Regions from separate parts of the Homo sapiens genome. Here region 1 is linked to region 2. The links are contacts of gene promoters, found by promoter capture Hi-C in blood cells and fetal thymus (Javierre and others, 2016). All regions are on one chromosome and are shown on one strand. Each heading gives the region's core, a stretch centred on a gene start or on the middle of the fragment in contact. The rest is flanking DNA. Distances are from core to core; before and after follow the strand shown.

Region 1 (4,738 bases), core at 1,451-3,950, 500 kb after region 2:
CTGGGAAATTCACCAACTCACTACCCATCCCCGAGGCAGCCCATTCTGTCTTCAGGTAGTTGTTGGGACAGTAAGAAAATTCTTGTTAGGTAGCAACCAGCCTTTACTTCCATTTAGAATGCTAGTGCTGCCTTTAGAGCCATAAATAACACATGAACTACATCTTAGGGACTTCTACAGATTTTCAGACTAGGAAGCATCTGCTGATGAGCACCCGGTGTTCATCAAATAATACGATTTCCAGTTACTGTGGTGGTTTTTCTTTTCTGAATATGTTTGTGTCTCTCATAAAGTGATATCCAAACACAGAAGCCTTGATTTTGAAGACTGTGAATTTATTCATTCTGTCTTGCTTTCGGGCATAGCGACATGGGGAGTTAGAGAGTTATTACACATGTTGTGACATGTGCCCTACCTTCAAGGTGGGGGTTAAGTGTACACATGAGGCGTAAGTGTACACCAAATGACTGACAGCAAAGTATTCATATGAAAGATTATTAAACCATGATAAAATGCAATGCAAAGATACAGCTTCTTGTTTTACAGATGTTCTCTTAATGATTTCCTGGACTTTATATCATCTGTTACCATTTTCCAACTTCTCTTATACTTAGAATCCTTACGTTCTTACAGTTGAGACTGATTACATTAGTTTTTGATTCCTTTAAAACAAATAAGGAAAGATGCTTTTTTTAGTGTGTTTTTAATATAATATACTTACTGTAGAAATACATACTAAATCTTATTAGATGTCTCTGCTTCAGACCTTTGCATTGCAGCTGTAATTAAAGAATGCCATCTCGTCATACTGTCGCTGAAGAGCCAAACCTTAGATGCAGAAACAGATGTGTTATGTGCAGTCCTTTACAGCAATCACAACAGAATGGGCCGCCACAAACCCCATTTGGCCCTCAAACAGGTGAGGAAGCCCGGTAGGTGAGACCCAACCTGTTCACTTGAAAATGTAGATCACACTGCCACTTACTATATTGCTATTTATGGAAATCTCGTGGAAATCTCAGTAAATTACTTGTGTTTTATAGGCCTATAGCCCACAGTTACATGTGCACTTTCTTTTTTTTTCCTAAAAGCATTTCAGCATTTCAAAAAGTAATTTTTGTTAGAAAAGAAGTATGTTTAGATTCTTTCCCAGTCTTGTTTCTAATAGGCAAGTAAACATTTTCTTCATTATATACAATCTATAACAACAGTGCCTTTGCCCAGCTCAAAGATAAAGTGATTTGAGCAAGACAAAATGTTGGACATTAAGAAACAGTTCCCTGGGCATAATCAGAATGCTAAAATTATTTTTAAAAAAACTTGTCTACTTATTATGGGGTACATAATCTAATTGGTGGTATGTTAGAGTAAATGGGTACATAGCAAGTTGTGGTGTAAACTGGTTTCATGTAATGTTTGGAGCTTAAGACAAAATTGGGCCCTCCAGCTCAGGGGCTATACCATAGAGTAGAGCCTCTCTTAAGCTGGCTTCCTGATATGCTCATTCATTCATTCACTTAATTCTGCAAGTATTTTCTGGAAGTTCAGAAGGCTATCCATTGTGTGACAGGGCTACCTTGCAAGTGTTTTTGAACTTTCTGTGTGCCAGGCATTCTGCTTAGTGCTGTGTATAGAGGAGTGAAAAAGGTAGACACAGTCTCTAACCTTATAGATGCATGCTTTCTGGTTAGTTTTCTACCCCTAGTACTTAAAGCAAACAGGGTGAAGATTTCATCAAAGAAAGATCTGGGACCATGGTCTTTCCCTAAATTTTCCATTCTAGGGTGGCTTTTATCTTTTTCGGAGTCTTTTTGATCCAAAAGCAAGCTTGCTAACCCTCAAAGTGAATATATTTCTCCTTCTAGCTTCTGGGTTGTGAATAATCACCCCGTCATCAAAATTTGGCATTCTCTAGTCTCTCTCTCTTACGTAGCTCTCCCATCCAGGCAGTCCATAAGACAAAACTTCCTCTGCATCTGGTCCCCTCTTCAGTTCTGGCTGCCATTTTCCTTTCTTAGACCTTGTCAACTTTTAGTTGTCTTACTATCATAACTGATGTTTCCTCCTTCAGCTTTTCCTAAGTTCTGGCATATTCTAAATATTAAAACCAGGTTAATCATCTGAAAACACAACTTTGATTTTTAGTCGTTCTCCATTGTGTCCTGAGTAAAGACCAAACTTCTTAGTTTGGCTTACGAGATCTGTGATCTGGCCTCTTCAGTCTTCTTAGTTCGGGCTTCTCTCTTGCGTTCAGATAGATTATATTCCAGCCAACCTGGACTCAACACACCTGCATGCTCACTATGTTTGTTCCTGCTTCTGAGTCTGCTTACCTGGTCCTGTATGTTTAGAATGCCCAGCCTCACCATGTCTGCCTGTTAAAGGCCTTCCTATCCTCTAAGTCCCATTTTAAGCCTTTCTGGCAGTGATAATCTGTGTTATAGTAATCTCATTTTAAGTTGTATTTTTCTGATTATTACTGAAGTTGCTTTTTTTTTTTTTTTTTTAAATTCTTGGCTATTTGGGCCTCCTCTTTGTACTTATAGCATTTAATATAGTCTGTGTCATGGTAAAGTTATTTGTGTATATATTTTATATTCCATGTGATCCCTGAAGTAGGAAACATGTTTTATGCTTATGTTACTGCTGCAGCTGCTATTACCACTTCTACTACTGCCTTACAACTGCTTAATATTTCACAGTTTTCAGAGAACTTTCATGTAAGTACTAGAATTGGCCTGTCTCTAAACATTCCCCTAAATGGAACACAGAAAGTAGTTTTGATTCCTGTTCTGTGGAGTACATGTAGGGCATGCTGGCAGATAAAGTGGTATTAGAAACTTCCCTATCTCTAGTTGCTAAAAATCTAGTAGTAAAAATAGGAAGACATGTAAAATATTTAATTAAATGCTAAAATAAAAACAGACCCTATTTAAAATTGCAATCTTCTCAGCACTCCCTCTCTGCCTTATTTGTCTTCATAGCACTTAACACCACCTGCCATTGATTGACTGCCTTTCTCTCCCAGCTATAATGTAAGCTCCACAAGGGCAATGTATTTTGTCCCTTTTGTTTACCACCATAATCCAGTTCTTAGAACAGTGTTCAGTAAGCACTCAATAGGATTTTTAATTTTTTTTAAAAAAAGTAAGAGCCATGCATGGTACAAAATGCTGTAGGAATTCTGTAGTCCTCAGGAATAACACACAAAGGGCAGCATGGGACTGCATCTAGACAGATACAAAAATTTGGATGGGCATTGATACTGGCAACAAGAGTATCTTGCCAGAGCTGCAAATATACTTCTAGAAATTGAACCAAGGTTATGGATTCTGTTTTAACAGCGGTTTTCAAGAATAATGGAGGGAACAATCCTTAAATTCTTTAGGGTCAGCTCCTATCTTTTTCAGTTTTCAAGTCTGGACACCATCCTTTGAGGGAGGTATTGACAAACCCAGATGGTAAAGCACTTGGAAAACATAGTAAGTGAACTGCGGTTCAAAAGAGAAAAAAAACCCAAGAGAGAGAAGGGAGAAAGAGAGAAGATGCAGAGGAACATAAGAACAAGCTTCATCTAATCAAAGAATATATTTGTTCAGTGATTAAAGCCAATCGTTTTCCTCATCTCTGTGGTACTTTATAGACTGTTGAAATTTAGTAGTTAATAATTTTCTATCTTGTTTTAATAGTTTCACTATTAAAAATCATGTTGTCGGCCAGGCGCGGTGGCTCATGCCTGTAATCCCAGCACTTTGGGAGGCCGAGGTGGGCGGATCACAAGGTCCAGATCGAGACCATCCTGGCAAACACGGTGAAACCCCGTCTCTACTAAAAATACAAAAAATTAGCCTGGCGTGGTGGCGGGTGCCTGTAGTCCCAGCTGCTTGGAAGGCTGAGGCAGGAGAATGGTGTGAACCCAGGAGGTGGAGCTTGCAGTGAGCCGAGATCACGCCACTGCACTGCAGCCTGGGCGACAGAGTGAGACTCCATCTGAAAAAAAAAAAAAAAATCTTGTCTTAGCAAAATTATAATCTTGAGAATAACCTATACTCGTTTTGGTCCCTTTTATGACATCAAGCTCATTGTGGCATATACTAATTTCTTAGGAGTCACCTGATTTTAAAAATGTGTTTGGCTGGATAAATTCCAAATTTGTAACTAGAAGCAATTGCTTGCGCTTTGGATTTCTCTACCCTGAAAAAAAATAAGGTATTCTGTGATATTTAGCATATTTCCATACTTTGAAAATCTAGAAGTCTTTGCTTTCCTGGTCATAATCAGTGACCCTGTCTGCATTACATACACATGAATTTGAACTGCTCTTCTTCTTTCAGGTTGAGCAATGTTTAAAGCGTTTGAAAAACATGAATTTGGAGGGCTCAATTCAAGACCTGTTTGAGTTGTTTTCTTCCAAGTAAGTAAGTGGTCCAGTTGCTTTGTGATGTGGTGGGCTGGGAACTCAATGTCTTGTGATCTCCCTTTGGATTTCTCTATGCTTGCTGTTGGAATATAACCAATTATACCTCAGCTGTATAAATTTTGTTTTAATGTGGGGTACCTGGTGTTTGTGGTAATCTTCTGACATTGATCTATGGGAGTGACTGGTGTGACATTGAAATCTGGGTCATGGTAGATTATATTAAAACATCAGTGGGCTGTTATTGTGCTTAACTACCTCAAGTTGAGCTTAAAGCAAGTCTTCACTTGAAAACTGCTATAGAAATGCTTTATATTTAAA
Region 2 (6,208 bases), core at 40-2,539:
GTTCTTAACGTGGTCCACGCAGCTCTGACTGTCGTGGATCCAGCCTATCAGGGCGCCTCCCCTTCACAGCAAGTTCCCACTGTTCTCTAAACTTCAGACACACTGGACCTCTTCCTGTCCCTTGCATTTTCCACATCTTTGCACATGCAGCTCCCTCTGCAGGAATGCTTTCCCCTTCCCCACTGGCCTATTCATGTCTGAGCTTTCCTGAGTAATTCAAATATTACTATAATAATAAGCTAAGTATTTGGTTAGAGTGCTTCCTTCTTAGCACTCGTCATAATTTTAATGTTTTTGTCATTGATAACTGTCTGTTAATATGCTGTAAGTTTCCCACCTTGCCTGTTTTTAGCCCCATAGAACCTAGCTCTCCCGCACATTTGTAGGTTGTAATAAACAACTTTTTTTTTTTTTTTTGAGACAAGGTCTTGCTTTGTCGTCCAGGCTGGAGTGAAGTGGTATGACTGTGGCTCACTACAGCTTTGCCCTCCTTGGCTCAAGCGATCCTCGCACCTCAGCTTCCTGAGTAGCTGGAACTACAGGCGTGTTCCCACGCCCAGCTAATTTTTTAATTTTTCGTAGAGACGGGGTTTCGCCATCTTGCCCATGCTTGTCTCAAACTCCTGAGCTTAAGCAATCCTTCTGCTTCTGTCTCCAAAAGTGCTGGGATTCCACTACTAAAGATTTGTAAACAAATGAATAGAGATGAAAGCAAATTAAGTGATATGTGAAGTCTGGTGAGGAGAGCAACATCTTTCTTTTGGAGAATTCTCGAGGCACCGGCTAATGCTATATGCCTATTCTTTTTTTTTTTTTTTTTTTTTTGAGACGGAGTCTCGCTCTTTCGCCCAGGCCGGACTGCAGTGGCGCCATGTCGGCTCACTGCAACCTCCACCTCCCAGGTTCACGCCATTCTCCTGCCTCAGCCTCCCGAGTAGCTGGGACTACAGGCGCCCGCCACCTGGCCCGGGTAATTTTTTGTATTTTTAGTAGAGACGGGGTTTCACCGTGTTAGCCAGGATGGTCTCGATCTCCTGACCTCGTGATCCGCCTGCCTCGGCCTCCCAAAGTGCTGGGATTACAGGCGTCAGCCACCGCGCCCGGCCTGCTATATACCTATTCTTTAATAATTTGCCCTGAACCTTGCAGAGGAACCTCTCTCCCTTAGACTCAGGACCCGAGATAGGCTTTGGGAGGCGCCTGCGCACTGGGCTCGCCGGATATACGCAAGGGCGTGGGGCGGAGCTCTGGTAACCCAGGCAACAGCCCGGAAGCCGCTGGCTGGGTTAACCTGTGGCGCGCTCCGCGGTTCCGGCGCCTGAAGTTTTAGCTGCGGTGGCGGCGGCAGTCGGGACCGACTGCAAGGCAGGTTGAGATGATGGATCTGAGGCTTGCAGCTCGCAGTCCCAACGAGCCTTAGGGACCAGGGCTACCAAAAGGGTGGGGAGAACGGTGGTGGCATCTGTCTGTTGCCTGGGATCCAGGCGCCCGGTTGGGGAATCCTTACTTCAGGAAGCGCAGCCGCGGCTCTGTGTTTTGAGAGTGCAAGTACGTGTCAGGGTGCGTGTCTGGGTATGTTTGTGCGTGGCGCCAGAGCACCTCGAGTATGCGCGTGCGCACCGCTTTCGGGAGCTTTTGCACAGAGCTGGTAATTGGGGGTGCTCGATTGTAGCGTTGGGGGAGTTCACCGTGTAGCAGGAGAGAGGCAAACTATCCAGGGTGCTTTGGGACCGGGAGCGTCATTTAAATCGATGGATGTCAGAGGGGCTTCTCAGAAGGCTCCTCCTGTGAGTTTTGAGGAGTCCGTGGAAGTTAACCCAGTAGAGAAGAGAGTGAGCCTAATGAGTGTTCCAAGCAGAGGGAAAAGAATGGTTGCAACTGTGTGTGAGGCGAGAGCTTGGTTTTAGGATTTGCGGGAGATGTGAGAGAACACTGGAAAGAAAAGTCAGCCGGGCCATATGGGGGAGAGGGTCTGAATGCCAAGCTGAGTTGGATTGCTTTTGACAGTGGGGAGCCATCCGAATCTAGAGGAAGTAGGTAAAGGGTTCAGATCTATTCTCTATCCATGTATTTAGGTAGGATTGATTCAACAGTGTTTGGAAAGAGTTCTTGTTTCTCTTTGATCAGTTTTCCACACCAGTCAGAGTGGATTTACTAAGTCCAGTCATAACTATCCCTTTTAAAATTCTTCAGTGGTTTCCTATGGTCTTAGGTGTTCAGATTGCTGTGGCTCACAAGACTACAATCTGCTGTCTGCCTTTCTTCCTTTAACCTCTCACCCTCTCAGATCTTTGTTAATTGAACTGAACTTCTCAAACTCTTCGTAAATGCATTTTCCCTTGCCTGGAATATTCTTTCCCCTGCTTCTAACTTTTATTCGTATTTTAGCTCTCAGTGCAAACATTTTTGGGGGTATTACAGAGAGGAGAAGCTTTTACTTACTGCATAGAGTTAGTTAGGTACTTTCATGGCACACAGAATTTACTTCCCATGCTGCCCTTTTGTTGTAAATACTTGTTTAATTGCGGTCCTCTTAGAAACTCTTAACTCTGCAAGGGCATAGACTATTCTACTTTCTTGTTATATCTGGTGCCTCGCTTTTAGATGGTGCTTCAAAATATTAGTTACATTAATAGATGGATGATGAAGTCAGTGAGTGAAGAGTGAAAGGGAGACTAATTAGAATAATGAGAGCCTGAACAAAAATATTTTTAGTAGAGATGGAGAAGAGCGGGCAAGAGAGATTTTTAGGGAAAAAGTTAATAGATTCTGTTATCTGATTCACTAAGAGATAAGGAACAGAGGTGATGCTGAGGTTTTAAATTGGAGCAACTAGGATTGTAATTCTGTAAATTCAGCTTAATTGAACATATTTATCGAGTCAACCAGTTATATATCAGCAAGTAGAGATTTGGGGTATGATGATGAGCTGTATTTTGATATACTGTATTTGTGATATTTGGGAGATGTATATAGTAGGTAGTTAGAAATGAGCATTTGGTGTTTTTGTTTTGTTTTTGTTTGTTTATTTTAAGAGACAGAGCCTCACTTTGTCACCTAGGCTGGAGTGCAGGGGCGCCATCGTAGCTCACTGCAGCCTCCAATTCCTGGGCTCAAGCAGTCCTCCCACCTCAGCCTCCTGAGTAGCTGAAACTATAGGCACTCACTGCCACTCCTGGCTAATTAAAAAAAATTTTTTTTTTAGAGACAGGGTCTTGCTATGTTGCACAGGCTGGTCTTGAGCTTCCTGCCTCAAGCGATCCTCCAGCCTCAGCCTCCCGAGTTGCTGGGATTACAGATGCGAGCCACTGTGTTTGAAGTTTTGAGGAAAGGTGTGAATCATTGATTTGGGACTCATTTTCACAGTGTGTTTGTTTGTCCATACATTCATAGCTTTGCTCAAGGGAGTTGGTGAGGTCACTGAGGGAGGATGTGAACTGCCCCTTTGTGATCAAGAAAGCAGCTCCATGAGAGCTGGCACCATATTAGACTTGTTTACTAATATCTTAGTTTATTTAGTTTACTTAGTTTACTTGTTTACTTGTATCTCTAATGCCTAGCCAGTGCCTGGTGTGTGCTGCACTCCCCCAAATAATTATTGAATGAAAGGAGAGGGTATCTAATGGAAAGACAAGAAGAATGAGAACTGAGATAGAACTGGGTGGAAATCCTTGATTAAATTGTTTGTGTGGAGGAGGACAATAGAGCCTGTGAAGAAAAGGAGAAAAGAATAGAAGAGGCCAGGTGTGGTGGCTCACGCCTGTAATCCCAGCACTTTGGGAGGCCAAGGCAGGTAGATCACGAGATCAGGAGTTCGAGACCAGCCTGACCAACATGGTGAAACCCCGTTTCTACTAAAAATACAAAAGTTAGCCGGGCATGGTGGCAAGCGCCTGTAATCCCAGCTATTCAGGAGGCTGAGGGAGGAGAATCGCTTGAACCCGGGAGGTGGAGGTTGCAGTGAGCTGAGGTCGTGCCACTGCACTCCAGCCTGGTAACAGAGCAAGACTCCGTCTCAAAAAAAAAAAAAAAAAAAAAAGAAAGCTTTTCAGTGCAAAGGTGGGGTCAGAGTTTTTGTAATTAATAAAACTTGGAGGTAGAACTAAGGATTAGTAAATACAGGTGCTAAAGTGTACCTTTTCATGAAGCTGGATGGCAAGAGAAGGGCAAAGATGGGATAGCAGCTTAACTATACCTGTGTTATCCTACTGTACACAGGTAGTAAATTACCACAGATTTAGTGGCCTAAAACAATTACTATTTATCATTTCACAATTTCTGTGGGTTGTGAGTTTGGACATGGCTTAGTTAGATTCTTTGCTTAGGGTCTTCCAAAGCTGTAATCAAGTCGTTGGCCAGTATGCATTCTCATCTGGAGTTTTAGCTTCTGAATAAGTAAAATATTCTAAATGTAACTTGAAATACTTTTCCCCCCATTTTTAAGAGTAACATAGGTCCATTATAGAAAATTTGGGAAATATAAAAGCAAACAGAGGTAACCCAATTCTGGCAAAGTTTTCCAGCATGTGCTTTACAGTCAGTCAGACCTGGTCTTGAGTGTCAGCTCTTGGCTCTGCCTGTTATTATTTGTATAACTTTGAGCTATATACTTTCTCTAAGCCTCATTTTTCATTTTTTTTGAATTTTAATATTCTTAATATTTTTAAATTTTGTTTCAAGTTCTAGGGTACACGTGCGGTATGTGCAGGTTTGTTTCATAGGTAAACGTGTGCCATAGTGGTTTGCTGCATCTATCAACCCATCACCTAGGTATTAAATCTAGCGTGCATTAGCTATTTTTCCTGATGCTCTGTCTCCCTGCATCCCCCTGCCATCTGACAGGCCCCAGTGTGTGTTGCTCCCCTCCCTGTGTCCATGTGTTCTCATTGTTCAGCACCCACTTATAAGTGAGTACATGTGGTGTTTGATTTTCTGTTCCTGCATTCGTTTGCCAAGTGTAATGGCTTCCAGTTCCATCCATGCCCCTGCAAAGGACATGATCTCATTCCTTTTTATGGCTTTATAGTATTCCATGGTTTATATGTACCACATTTCTTTATTCAGTCTATCAATGATGGGCATTTGGGTTGATTCCATCTCTTTGCTATTGTGAATAGTGCTGCAGTGAACATATATGTGTGTGTATCTTTATAATTGAATGATTTATTTTCCTTTGGGTATATATGCAGAAATGTGATTGCTGGGTCAAATGGTATTTCTGGTTCTAGGTCTTTGAGGAATCGCCACACTGTCTTCCACAATGGTTGAACTAATTTGCATTTCCACCAACAGTGTAAAATTGTTCCTATTTCTCCACAGTCTTGCCAGCATGTGTTGTTTCTTGACTTTTTAATAATCGCCATTCTGACTGGCATGAGATGGTATCTCACTGTAGTTTTGATTTGCATTTCTCTAACGATCAGTGATGTTGACTTTTTTTCATACGTTTGTTGGCTGCATAAATGTCTTCTTTTGAGAAGTTTGTGTTCATGTCCTTTGCCCACTTATTAATGGGGTTGTTTGTTTTTTTGTCAATTTAAGTTCCTTGTAGACTCTGGATATTAGCCCTTTGTCAGATGGAGAGATTGCAAAATTTTTCTCTCATTTTGTAGGTTGTCTGTTTGCTCTGATGATAATTTCTTTTGCTGTGCAGAAGCTCTTTAGTTTAATTGGATTCCATTTGTTAAGTTTTGCTTTCGTTACAATTGCTTTTGACATTTTCATCATGAAATCTTTGCCTGTGTGTATGTGCTGAATGGTATTGCTTAGATTTTCTTCTAGGGTTTTTATAGTTTTGGGTTTTACATTTAAGCCTTTAATTATCCTGAGTTGATTTTTGTCTATGGTGTAAGGAAGGGGTCCCGTTTCAATTTTCTGCATATGGCTCACCAGTTCTCCCAACACTATTAAGTAGGGAATCCTTTCCCCATTGCTTGTTTTTGTCAGGTTTGTTGATGATCAGATGGTTGTAGATGTGCAGTCTTATTTTTGAGTTCTCCATTCTGTTCCGTTGGTCTATATGTCTGCTTTTGTAGCAGTACCATGCTGTTTTGGTTACTGTAGCCTTGTAGTATAGTTTGAAGTAGGGTAGCATGATGCCTCCAACTTTGTTCTTTTTGTTTAGGATTGTCTTGGCCATATGGGCTCTTTTTTGGTTCCATATGAATTTTAAAATAGTTTTTTCTAATTCTGTGAAGATGTTAATGGT

What was found. Contacts are between HindIII fragments. The CHiCAGO score rates a contact against its expected background, and 5 or more counts as called.
Region 1: a fragment that was not itself captured here is called in contact with the fragment with the promoter of SPICE1 in region 2 in 1 of 17 cell types (fetal thymus); the score reaches 6.7 in fetal thymus.

The regions. Positions count from the first base shown.
Region 1 is chr3:113,013,629-113,018,366 of GRCh38, reverse strand. RMP64 (ribonuclease MRP subunit p64) reads left to right here. Exons shown (of 9, transcript NM_015412.4): 2 at 765-919; 3 at 4,335-4,414. Among named protein-coding and RNA genes, the nearest start is that of NEPRO-AS1, 3.5 kb to the left of the region's middle. The HindIII fragment of the contact is 1,741 bases long and covers 1,830-3,570 here.
Region 2 is chr3:113,510,237-113,516,444 of GRCh38, reverse strand. It overlaps SPICE1 (spindle and centriole associated protein 1), which reads left to right and starts at 1,289. Exons shown (of 18, transcript NM_144718.4): 1 at 1,289-1,548. SPICE1-CFAP44 (SPICE1-CFAP44 readthrough (NMD candidate)) reads left to right here and starts at 1,289. Exons shown (of 52, transcript NR_183050.1): 1 at 1,289-1,548. RefSeq lists enhancers at 57-106, 617-666, 1,373-1,422, 1,483-1,602. The HindIII fragment of the contact is 3,693 bases long and covers 1-2,433 here.